Linked DNA regions of Homo sapiens: all the other regions are linked to region 1. Evidence: promoter capture Hi-C in human tissues and cell types (Jung and others, 2019). All regions are on one chromosome and are shown on one strand. Each heading gives the region's core, a stretch centred on a gene start or on the middle of the fragment in contact. The rest is flanking DNA. Distances are from core to core; before and after follow the strand shown. Region 1 holds the start of ADIG (adipogenin). Region 2 overlaps ACTR5 (actin related protein 5). Region 3 holds the start of PPP1R16B (protein phosphatase 1 regulatory subunit 16B).

The links. The method cuts DNA at HindIII sites, captures the fragments that hold promoters and counts their contacts. A contact is called where the count stands out against the background at its distance.
Region 2: a contact is called between a fragment that was not itself captured here and the fragment with the promoter of ADIG in region 1, in 2 of the 25 tissues and cell types used here (hippocampus and mesenchymal stem cells).
Region 3: the fragment with the promoter of PPP1R16B here is called in contact with the fragment with the promoter of ADIG in region 1 in 1 of the 25 tissues and cell types used here (H1 embryonic stem cells).

What each region holds. Positions count from the first base shown.
Region 1 is chr20:38,578,684-38,582,646 of GRCh38, reverse strand. ADIG (adipogenin) reads right to left here and starts at 1,450. Exons shown (of 3, transcript NM_001393816.1): 1 at 1,273-1,450. The coding sequence starts at 1,396. It overlaps RALGAPB (Ral GTPase activating protein non-catalytic subunit beta), which reads right to left. Exons shown (of 30, transcript NM_020336.4): 30 at 3,789-3,963. The HindIII fragment of the contact is 13,860 bases long and covers 1-3,963 here.
Region 2 is chr20:38,756,923-38,761,171 of GRCh38, reverse strand. All of the region lies in intron 5 of ACTR5 (actin related protein 5), which reads right to left. Among named protein-coding and RNA genes, the nearest start is that of ACTR5, 11 kb to the right of the region's middle. The HindIII fragment of the contact is 3,319 bases long and covers 1-3,010 here.
Region 3 is chr20:38,802,709-38,807,036 of GRCh38, reverse strand. PPP1R16B (protein phosphatase 1 regulatory subunit 16B) reads right to left here and starts at 1,340. Exons shown (of 11, transcript NM_015568.4): 1 at 1,245-1,340. RefSeq lists silencers at 291-640, 701-920, 1,111-1,490 and enhancers at 1-722, 1,751-2,020, 1,303-2,164, 2,165-3,027. The HindIII fragment of the contact is 22,338 bases long and covers 1-4,328 here.

The sequences.
Region 1 (3,963 bases), core at 201-2,700:
TAAACACTTTCTAGAAACAAAAGGACATCCCAAGTTCTTGCCAGGAACTCCCAATAATTACATAATTATAAGCCCCTACATTTGAGATCATGGGGCTAGCAGGGGTGTGGGGAGGGACTTCTCACCCTGCCTCAACAACATCTGACCATTGCTGGCGGCATGTGCTGCGCCCTCCCTGCCTAGCTTGCCAAAGGTCATGGCACTCAGCAGCAGGAGGTAGGAGGTCAAGTGGTCCCCACGAAGAGGCCTTTTTTTGACACAGGGTCTCACTCTGTCTGCTGGAATACAGTGGTGTGATCTCGGCTCACTGCAGCCTCGACCTCCCAGGCTCAAGCAATTCTCCCACCTCAGCCTCCTCAGTAGCTGGGACCACAGATGCATGCCACCACACCTGGCTAATTTTTGTATTCCTTGTAGGGACGTTGCCCAGCCTGGTCTCAAACTCCTGGGCTCAAGCAACCTGGCCACCTTGGCTTCCCAAAGTGCTGGGATTACAGGTGTGAGCCACTGTGTCCAGCAGGAAGAGACCTCTTGCTGAAGGGGATGCTCAGGGAGACACATGCCAGAGGAGCAGAAGTCCCACTCCTGCCACACAGCCAGGCCATATCCTGATCCAGCCACCCCCAGCTTCCTCCACAGCCAGCTTCGTCCCACCTCTTGCTCCTCTTGGTGGCATGCTGAGGTCAGGGTGAATGTCAGCTGGCTTCCATGAGCCTGTCTCCCAAAGCAGCCAGATCCTTTCTGATACATGGCTTAGGCAGAAACAGTGAGTGGTCTGCAGGTATCTGAAAAATGCCTAAGGCTGCTGTATCCCATCGTGCAAGCTGTTTACTGCACAAAAGCAGCCAATTGAGAGGGTGAGCGGGGCTGAAATCCAGCCCACGCTCTGCTCACAGAGCCTTGCACCCCAGCTGAAAGGGGCACCTGGAAGTTCATCTGCCTGGAGCGATAACCTCTGATTTGTTCAAAAGATCACTCTCGAACTCTAGGTTCAAACTCTAGGACTCACTCTCAAACTCTAGGTTCAAACTCTAGGACTCACTCTCGAACTCTAGGTTCAAACTCTAGGACTCACTCTCGAACTCTAGGTTAAGAAACCCTAAACAACCAAACCAATCCTTTCCACTTAAGAGTTGACTGCTTGTATCTAAGCGAGCACTTAAAATGACTGAAGGAAGCCCCTTCTGCAGTTGTTTCAGGACACACTGGCCTATTTGGCCCCCTGCCTAGCTCCAGGATTAGGGTCCTGCCTGGACGGGGTAAGAAGCTCACCTTGGCTAAGTAAGAAGCGTAGCCAGATGATCAATAACAACAGCAAACCCACAGGGAGGCAGAACCAGAAAACCAGGAAAGAAAATGTGAGGTCGTTCACCAGCGGCATCAAAGGGTACTTCATGGCGCATGTGTGGCTAAGCTGGGCCAGCCTGGGCTGGGCTGGCAGGGCTGCCCCATGGGACCTGGCAGGCTGGGCCATGCTCTGCTCTCAGCCCAACTGTGACTAAGCTGTGACATAACAAAGAAGTCACAGTGTACTTCAGGCAAAGCATGCAGGGGACACTTTGAGGGAGAGCTGTTCTGGATGAAAGGGTGGGAAGTGAGGCAGTGAGACAGACAGTCTGGCTGAGAATTAAAAAGCCCAGGTTTCCAGGCAGGCCTGGGCTTGAATCTCAGTCCAGTAGCTATTGGGTTCATGACACCCCTCTGACCCTTTTTCTTGTAAGATGGAGATAATTCTGTTAAGTTAGAAAAATAGATGGGACAAAAATTACCCCCAGGATCGGTGTTCATATATCTGAAGTCACAGACCCCCTCCAGGAGCCAGCTGGGTCCCCAGGTCCTGTAATACCAGCTGTGGGTGCCCACGTCCACACTTGGTGGGGGTGCTGGGGACTGCGGCAAACTGGATGCAGCTTACTGCATCCTAAGCATGCAGTGATGGCAGCTCCAACCAATAACTGCTACAAGTGAAATGCAGGTCCATTATTGCAGGACTCCTAACTTTCCCAAGACAGGCAAAAAGTCTGGATTTCTGTGAAATCTCCCAAGTTTAAAATGTCGGATCAGACCTTGTCAAAGCACTGTTGGCTAAACAAAACGTCTGCCAGGCTGGATTGGTCACTGGGCTGCCACTGAAAACTTTTAAAATCTAACACATAGTAGATTATTCTAATTATTACTAGATTAAATGACTATAAATGATTATTACTTAATCTGAAAGCTTGTGCCTCTCCTTATTAGGGTTTTCAGTGAGGGGCTTCTAACGACTTGAATCTTGTTCCTTTATCTCCTGAGTGGCCAGAACACTTCCACATGTCATCCTCATCTTCTCCTATCTGTCATCCGTTCACTCATCAAGTATTCAGTAAACCTCCATGTGCCAGACCATGGCAGAAAGGAGGCTTCGGGCTTCCCACTGGAGTGGCTGCTGCATGGTATTCTCCAAGAGGACCCTTGGACCACCTGCCTGTGACTGCCAGCAGGTGGGTGGGTGCTGGAGTGTATTTATTAAACATGCCAATTCCCAGGCTCACCTTCGTCTCCTCAGACCTCTTGGGGGTGGGGGTGTGGCTTGGGATTCAACACACTGATAAGCAACTAGAATGATTCTGATGCAGGCTTGATTTTGAGACTACAGCATCTCATGACTTAAAAGCACCTGTTGAAAAGGCAAACCAGGTCCAGGCGGGGGAGCAGCTGCAGGAAGGGGGTGGTAAACTTAGGGAAAAACATGGAGTAGAAAACCCCCTTATAGGAAAAGACACCGATTCAAGGAGAAGGGCGCATGGGGCCAGCAACAGGAAAAAATAAGAGCATGGGAGGGGCTGGGAGAGCTGGGGCATGGTTTCAAGAGTCCTAGCCCAGCTGTGGGAAGGCCAGAATTCCTACAAGAGGAAGTCTGGGAAAATGGACTAGAATGAGTGTCCAAGAGGAGCAGTGCTCTGGCAGGGTGCTCCTGATGCAGGGCCCAGAGGCCAAGAGAAGGAGGAGCAGGTGGTCTGGGTTGGGGGTGATTCCCTGGAACTGGGTCCTGAAGGGGCTGCGGTCAGAGAGAGAGCTGAGCAGCATAGCTGGGAAAGGCTTGAGCACACATTTTTTTTCTGGCTACAAAACCTTTCCAGACACCAAAACAGGGCTACTGTGCAGTCAGCGTCTCTGGCCACTAGGCCCAGCTGGAGGTCCTGTTGTGCGTGGGCAGAGCAGGCAGAACACACAGTGCAAGGTAGGCAGCTCCCAGGCACAGTTCAGAGGGCACACGTCAGCAGCTCTTGGCAGAGGCATGGCCACAATGGTTCTCATGATTGTTTCAAGTGGTCCATTCACTCCACTATGTGTGATCCAGGCCTGAAGGCACTCATCTGGCTCCAAGATGCCCTTCACAAAGGGGGCAGTGGGCGGCAGGGGATGATCTCTGCACCTCCCCCCTTTCCTGACTGTCTAGTCCTACTAGGGCTCAAATTTTCTGCAAGCAGAGGGCACAGCTGGCACTTTCTTGCTCCCGTAACATAAGCATCTATCTCCTCAGCAATTCGCAGCCCCTGAAAGGTGAGCCTCTATTGGCAGTGTTTTAATTATACAAGCTCCTTCCAGCAGAGAAGGCCAAATACTTTTCTTAAAATTAATCAAACTTTGAGTATTTCATGAAATACTCATTTAATGTTCATTTAAACTACAGATCTAAATTATAAAGGGCAGCCAAAGCCGAGCAGACATCCCCTGAAAGGGTAAAATTAACAGCACCAGTGTAGGAGTAAAGCCTCAGCCTGTATCCAAAAGCACACACAAAGTTATTAGATAAGAATCTCCTTAAAATTTAATTGACTAAATGTATTACATTCAATATTCCATGGGCTTCTTCTGGACAAAGGATCGGCATAAATACAAACAAACCTCTGGACCTTCTTCCCTAACCGACGAAGATGAAACACAGGAGGCAAGGGGCACGGGCACGCCTTCATATTTACA
Region 2 (4,249 bases), core at 102-2,601, 180 kb before region 1:
GGTGGGAGGCTTGCTTGAGGCCAGGAGTTCGAGAACAGCCTGGGCAACACAGTGAGACCCATCTCTACAAAAAATTAAAAAGCAAAAAGTTAGCCGGGCATGGTGGTGCACTCCTGTAGTCCTAGCTACTAGGGAGGCTGAGGTGGGAGGATCAATTGAGCCCAGGAGTTCCCAAAACAAAATCTCATCGTCTCATTCCCTTGCTCAACATCCCTGGAAGGCTCCGAATGTCTGAAGGATAAATTACAGTGAGCCATCATCACAACATATACTCCAGCCTGTGCAACAGAGTAAGATCCAATCTCTTAAAAAAAAGAAAAAAAAAAGGTGCTCAAAACTAAGCCAATTATCTTCCCAAACTTGGTCAAAAGGCACTACCATCTACCCACTGCCTTTCAATACAGCCTAAGGGTTACAAGGGTGGAATCTGGAATTGAACTGCCTGTGTGTGAATTTGATCAGCACTACTTCTAGCTATGTGACCTCACTCCAAATCTTTCCTTGTCTGTAAAAGGGGGATAATGATAGTACCTACCCATTGAGTTGTGAACACGAACCAGGAGGACACCTACGTAGGTGCTCAGCAAGGAGTCGGCACATGCCACATGCTCTATTATCAACACTGCTACTCTTGTCACCTTGGCTTGCAAATGGCAGCGAGATCTTGGGATCCTACATCTGATCCTACATCTGTTTTGTTTTCCCACCTGCAGTCTCACCCCTCCCTTCAACCCATCATCCTAACTGCCACCAGTTAGTTTCCCAAAACAAAATCTCATCGTCTCATTCCCTTGCTCAACATCCCTGGAAGGCTCCGAATGTCTGAAGGATAATATGCAGGCTCATAAGACTGATGGGTAAAGAACTTAATAGTCATCTCCACTTCATCACCCACCACAGCTTTTCTTGTTCACACTCTATATGCCTGCATGTGTGGTTCTTTCCACCTAAAATGTCCTTCCCTCCTCCTTTTGCTACCTACTGAAATCAAATAATCTTCCTTTTCTTTTTTTTTTTTTAGACAGGGTCTTGTTCTGTTGCCCAGGTTGGAATGCAGTGGCACAACCATGGCTCACTGCAGCCTCGAACTCCCAAGCTCAAGTGATCCTCCCACCTCAGCCTCTCAAGCAGAGACTACAGATGCATGCCCAGCTAATTAAAAAAATTTTTTTTAGAGATGGGGTCTATGTGACTCAGGGATTGGTCTCAAAGCGCTGGGCACAAGTGATCTTCCCTCCTCAGCCTCTCAGTGTTGGGATTACAGATGTGAGCCACTGTGCCCGGCCCAAATAATCTTTCAAGGCCCAGCTGAAACATCCAGTCCTTCTCAAAAAACCAAATGTGTATTCCCACACACATTTACCACCATACCTGCTACGCTTCATTACAGTCAGCTAAGCATGGTGCTATAGCCCTCATTTTTTGTTTTTGAGGTACCCAGGAAGGCAGGCATTGTATCTTAATCACCTCTGCATCCCTGGTATACTGCACCTGTCACTGAGTGGTGGGCCCCTGGGATACACCCTCAAATTCCCCTGAAATAGAGATGATTGTAAAGCTTTGGGTTTCAAGAGGTTTCTTCAGCTGCCAAAAAAAAATCAACATTCACCTTCACCTAGCTTCACTCCAAAGCATACCATCTTAAGATAACTTCTTAGCTTCACAAAAATTATAAAAAGGACATTTATTTATCCCAATTCATACAAGTCGCAGAGAGGAACAAAGCTGATCATTTCAACACAGAGAACAGGCATCCAACAGAGAATAGTTTTCTCTGCCACGGCTGGCTTCTCTCTCGCTAGAGTTTGCCAGGGTCTCCACATGTCTTATGTGGCGTTCAGAAACACTAATATGACTGTTCTTTTGGAACTGCAGGGAATGACAGTTTGCCAAGGCATACCACAGAAGATGCAGCATGGTTCCCTAAAACAGCCTTGAGCGGCATAAGAAGAAGCAGAGGCCAACCCTGATCTTGGCTAGTAAAGCCGGAGAACTTTCTATATTTGGCCCATTGCGTTTTCCAACAAATGATGATGCTCAAAACCTGTGTTCTCCCCCCTCCTACCCTCTTATGCTGTGCTTGTAGCTATGAAAAGCAAGCATCTTCTGGTTTAAATACTTGGTAAAAATGCTAACAAAGCCTGCTCCTTCACAACATCCTCACAGAAACAACTGCAGAATAGCAAGGGTCAGAATAGATTGGTCTATAAGAAAAAATAGATTTTCGAGACCTCTATTAGTTAAATTCCAGCTGTATTAATTCAGTTCAGCCATTACTGCTTAAGTGCAATTTCAATATGAATTTTGGTTCACATATATTGATTCAATTCATTCTAAATGAATTATATTATTGGAAACTCTACAAATACTTTTTGAATGGTAGAACTGGCTAGCCATTGTCATGGTCAAGTTTATCCCACAAATGTGACTGTAATTGACTCTGATCATTAAGAATTACCCTAAAATGCTGAATGCTGACTAACCATTAAAGCTTTGACGACTGATCATCACTTTTTTTTTTTTTTGAGACGGGGTCTTGCTCTGTTGCCCAGGCTGGAGTGCAATGTCACAATCTCAGCTCACTGCAACCTCCGCCTCCTGGGTTCAAGCGATTCTCCTGCCTCAGCCTCCCGAGTAGCTGGGATTACAGGCGCCTGCCCCGACGCCCGGCTAATTTTTCTATTTTCAGTAGAGACAGGGTTTCACCATGTTGGTCAGGCTGGTCTCGAATTCCTGACCTCAGGTGATCCACCCACCTCGGCCTCCCAAAGTGCTGGGATTACAGGCGTGAGCCACCGTGCCCGGCCCAACTGATCATCAAATTTGTTGCATATAGAAAAATCTTTTGCAGTCCGGCATTTCAAAATCCCCTAAACCCAAGGAGATTTAAATGTGTGTACCAGAGCATAAAATGAAGTAGGTACCTACTGAGTATCTGCTGAAAGAATGGGGGAATGGGTGATGAATCACATCATGTAACAAATGCAGACAAATGAACAAAGAAAAGGAAAAACTAGTTTCCCCACTGCTGAAGAATCACATCTTCACAGCTGTTTGGTTTTTTTTCCCTTTTTGAAATCTGAAATCCCTCATCTGCTTGTGGCTGAGTGGCACTGCTCTGGTATAAAGAAAACTATGTCCTGCTAACATGTCAAGCATGATAAAAACTAAATATGGATGAATACATAACAAAGACAACATGGTTCCGGATTTCAGTAAACAACAACTCAAATCTCAAAGACCTGAAAAACCAAGAGAAGCAAAATGGAAAAGGCACACACTGATTCAACTGAGGCTGATCTGGGATGCTGTGTTGGAAGAAGATGGTAAAGGCCCCTTCTACACAAGATCTTGGTGATCCAATAAGGTGTATCTAGTAAGCCTATCTCAGGATCTGCTCTATAAAGCATACACTCATGTACTGTCCTCACATAATCGACAGCCTGGGAATGAGATGTAGAGGATGCAACGGTGAGAGCAGAACCTTGAGCGAGCCTCCAGCTGGGAGCCCATCACTGCAAAAGCAAGCTTCCTGTTGAGCCAAAGGCAACTCTGACATCACTGATAAGCACTATGCTACACCCAGCATCAAATGGCACTGACTTGCATTTTTCCAAAGTATCATTTTTTTTCTGAAAGGATAAGTAATCAACAGCTTAATGAAAGCTGATTTAAAAAGGAAAAAACAAAAAACAAAAAACAAGAGGCTAGTCTGGTTTATCCTGCCTAAAACATGTCTCAAGGCAGTAAGTTCCTTTGTTTTGGAATTCTAGGGATGACAGATCCAGGAACAGGATGTACACTTACTCTTTGTTTCAGTTCTAAAGGCAGGCGACTCAACCAGCGACTTCTGGACTGAGGAGTGACCTGCAGGCTGCCCCTTTGCCATACAGGAACTAAGATGCTGGGGCCTAAGCTCTTTTGGCTACTTCGACACTTATTAACAGCCAAGCATGGTGGCTCAAGCCTGTCATCCCAGTGCTTTGGGAGGCTGAGGTGGGAGGTTCACTTGAGGCCAGGAGTTCGAGACCAGCCTGGACAACTTGGTGAGACCCCATCTCTACAAAAAATTGTAAAAATGACTTAGGCATGCTGGCGTTCACCTGTAGTCCTAGCTTCTTAGAAGGCTGAGGTGGGAGGATCCACTTAAGCCCAGGAGTCTGAGGTTATATTGAGCTATGAACATGTAACTGCATTCTAACTGGGCAACAAAGTGAGACCCTGTCTCAAACAAACAAAAATACTTATT
Region 3 (4,328 bases), core at 91-2,590, 220 kb before region 1:
GCACCTGGTGTCCAGAGCCGCGGAGAGCTGGGGGGCTCTTCTGACAGTGAAAACAGGGGCCCTTTATGTGAAATGCAATCACATGGGCGCGCAGGCAGCTCGGTTTTCGGTTCCTAGAAGCGCTGATGAAGCCACATCCCTCTCCCTCCGCTCCTGAGGTGCCCGGGAGCACCGGGACCCAGGCCTGGCGCGCGGCAGCGGCGCAGCCCTGGGGTCTCAGGAGGGCCAGATTCAAAGCTCTCCCAGGCTCAATTATCCTCCAAGGGCTGGGAGCTGCATCATCAGCATCTCCAGTGAAGCTGGAGGCCGGGCCGGGGTGGGGGAGCGGAGGAAGGGAGTCTACATGGGGGAAGGAGGAGGGCAGCGAGCGCCTGCCTCCCGGCTCTCCACCCGGGGCGGTCTGGGCAGCTCAGCCTGGGCACTCCGGGTGACCTTGGGGAGACCCCTCTGGGCGACCTCTCAGGGGCGGCTGCACGTCTCCGCCCATCCTCGGCGCCCGGGGGCGCTCCTCTGGGCCGGAATCGATGAGCCGGAGTCGCCCAGAGGGGAGCGCTCCTGGCGCGGGGGACCCAGCCGCCGGCGCACGGGGCCCTGGGAGAGGCCGGGCGCGCCCCTCCCGGGGAACTACCACTCGCGGGGTCTCCCCGGGCTGGCTGGTGCTGTCAGCCGGATCCTGAGGCGGGGCGGGTCTGCAGGTGGAGGCGCCTGCCTTGGGGATCTTTCCCGCCCGGGCAGGAGCGCTCTCTGCGCCCTGCCGCTGCCCGCCAGGACCAAGCCCCGCCACGCGAGGGGGCGGCACCACCATGCCCGGCCGGGAGAGTGCGCGGGGGGGGGTTGTTTGGTGTCCGCTGTGGCTCCCGCCGCCCGGCATTGCACCCCCGGCAGACGGCGGCCCCATGAGTCCAGAACAGACCGAGGACCCCACCTCCCCGCCCCAAGATCGGTCTACGACGGCCGCAGCCAACAACCTGCCAATGCGCCCCCTCCCCTGGCCTCGTCAAGGAATTGCGAGGCCGGGGAGAACGCCCCCATTCCAGCCCGACTCCCGGACCTAGCGCTCTCGGTACCCGTCTTTCCAGAGTCCCCACACTCCCATTTATCTCAAGCTATCGTCCCTTGGCCAAAGCGCCCCGGCCCCCAGCTAGGTGATAGCAGGCTGGGACCACCTCCCCGCCCCATCCTCATCCCCCGCCCTGCGAAGCCGCAGAGCGCAAGGAGGGTGGTGGCGCCGCCGGGGAACTCACCCGCTCTCCCGAGCCCTGCCCCGGGCGGCTCCCGACCCCGGCTGTGTCTGTGGGTCCCCGAGCCGCAGCTGCTCCAGCGGCGACAGAGCTGGCTCTGCTCGGCCGCGAGCCTCCGCGCCGCCTCTCGGCTCCTCCCCCAAGGCGGGGCCTGAGCTCCTGGGACTGGGGTGGGCGCGCTCAACCCCATCCGGCTTGGGAGGCAGCGCGGGACAGGGTCCCGGCGCTCTCGGGTGGGGACCCCTCTTCTGAGCTGCAGGAAGTTGAAACCGGTTGGGACGTGGCCAGGCTTCGGAATAGTTTTCCTAACGCTGCCCCCTCCTCCAAAATAGTTTTCCTAACCCCCACCCCGACCATGGAAAGAGGGAAGCCAAGGACGGTATCCCTGCTCCCATTTGACAGACGGGAATCCTGAAGCCCAGAGAGGAGTGGTAACCTGCTCAAGGTCACACAGAATGAATGCCAGGGCCAGGAACTCAGGGTTCCTAGCTTGAAGGCCTGCGCGGCCTGAGTCTGAAGGCTTCCCAGGAGGTCCAGGGGCCGGCCCTGGCCTTGCGCTGGGGACAGATCTGTGGGGCCAGGTCCCCCAGCTGCTGGGGCCGAGACATGGGGGCTGTGGCCTGCGGTGTGGACTCGCATCATTTCCTCTTTCTGGAAAGAAGGGAGGTGAAGCGCTGGAGGAAGGAAGTGGTCGTACCTCTGCTGACGTCTGACGCCCTTTGAGATGTGCAGGATGAAGATAGGGGCTGCTTCCCTGAGATTTAACGCTAAAAATAAAAAGCAAAACATACCCGGTGGCTTCTGTCACCTCATTCAAGCCTCTTTCTGGGGCTGAAGGCCTCTGCACTCTGTGCACCAGCCTTTCTTTACAACACAATGGGTTTAACTATTTAAGTTGCTGAGAGTCACCCCCCACCATCACCACCCCAGGAAGAGAAAAGAAAGTTCATAAACAAAGCAGAGAAAACCTCCCCAAACATTCTCTGGAATCCACATTTGCTGAACCCTGGCCTTAGAACAATAGGTTTCTCTTCTCCACAAAGGCCTTGTTTCCTGAGCTTTCCCGGCCTACAGATGAGAGCCCTAGGCACCCCAGGGCCAGCCAGCTGGGGAAATTCAGAGTTTAAGTTTGGGGAGTTTGGGGATGGTACCCAGTTAATTTGATTCTCAGCTGTCATGTTTGAGGAACTCGCCCGAATCCTTTTTTTTTCACTGGCAATATTCTTTTGAGGCCACCAGCATCACCTGAGTTTAGTGATTTTCTGTTTGCTCAGTCACCTTTCTTGGGGGAGAGAAAATCTGTGGGTTGAACTTGTTCCAGGCCCCCAGGCCCTCTCCAGGAACTCTGTAAGCCCCCTTCATTGGCTCCCTGGCTCCCTCTCAGTTCATTAATAATCCAGTTGTGAATGACACTGTTTCAGGAAAAGCAATTAGACAGTAGAGCATGTGGGGAAGACTTAAAGCCATGTTTAAAATAACCCAAGGGAATCATTGTTCTCCGAAGAATGTTTCCATTGATTGATAATGAAGAGCCATGGGCTGAGAGGATGGGAACCCATCTCTCCAAGGCTTGTGTGGCACTTGGGGCCTGTGTTCCTAAAATAAGGCCTTTGGAGGGAGGGGGCTCCCAACTCCAATGTCATGCTGTTCATTCACCTCTCACACTGTGTTCGGTATCAAAAGTTAAAGTAAATTCAGAATAAGTTGGGGGACTCACAAGTCCTGATTTCAAAACTTACTAGGAAACTTCAGTCATCAAGGCAGGGTGGTACGGGTATAAGGATGGGCATACAGACCAATGGAATAAAACTGAGAGTCCAGACAGAAGCCCTTACACTTACTGCCAATTGATTTTCAACAAGAGTGCCAAGACAATTTAATGGGGAAAGAATAGTGTTTTCAAAAAATGGTGCTGGGACAACTGGATATCCACATGCAAAAGAATGAATTTGGATCCCTGCTTCATACTATATGCAACATATAGATCTAAATGTAAGAGCTAAAACTATAAAACTCTCTGAAGAAAACATAAGCCTAAATCTTCATGACTTTGGATTAAACAGTAGTTGCTTAGATATTAGCACAAGCAACAAAAGAAAAAAAAATAGATAAATTAAAAACTTTTGTGCTTTCAGGGGTATCATCAAGAAAGTGAAAAGTTATGGCTGGGCCTGGTGGCTCACACCTATAATCCCAGCATTTTGGGAGGTGGAGATAGGAGGATTACTTGAGGCCAGGAGCTCAAGACCAGCCAGGGCAACATAGTGAAACTCTGTCTCTACAAATTCTTTTAAAATTAGGCAGACGTAGTGGTTCATGATTGTAGTCCTAGCTATTTAAGAGGATTGCTTTTGCCTAGGAGTTCAAGGCTGCAGTGAGCTATGATGGTGCTACTGTACTCCCGCCTGGGTGACAGAGCAAGACCCTGTCTCTAAAAAAAAAAAAAAAAAAAAATTAAACATAAAAAGAACAAAAAGAGAGTGAAAAAATAACTGTTATAAGCTGAATTGTGTGCCCCCTCACCCCCATTCATATGCTGAACTGTACTGGTTACAGTCTCAGAACCTCAGAATGTAACTGTGGATGGAGATAAGGTCTTTAAAGAGGTGATCATCTTAAACTGAGGCCCTTGGATGGGGCCCTCATCCAATGACTGGTGTCCTCATAAGAAGAGACACTAGAGATGCGCCACACAGAGGAAAGACCAGAGGAAGGCACAGGGAGAAGAAGGTTAATTACAAACCAAGGAGAGAGGACTCAGGGCTGGGGGACCAGACCTGCCAACACCTTGATCTCAGAATTGTAGCCTTCAGAATTGTGAGGAATAAATTTCTGGGGGTTTGTTTTGTTTTGTTTTTTTGACATAGAGTTTCACTCTGCTGCCCAGGGTGGAGTGCAGTGGCACGATCTTGGCTTACTGCAACCTCCACCTCCCAGGTTCAAGCGATTCTCCTGCCTCAGCCTCCTGAGAAGCTGGGATTACAGGTGCATGCCCCCACGCTCGGCTAATTTTTGTATTTTTAGTAGAGTAAGGGTTTCACCATGTTGGCCAGGCTGGTCTCAAACTCCTGACCTCAAGTGATCCAC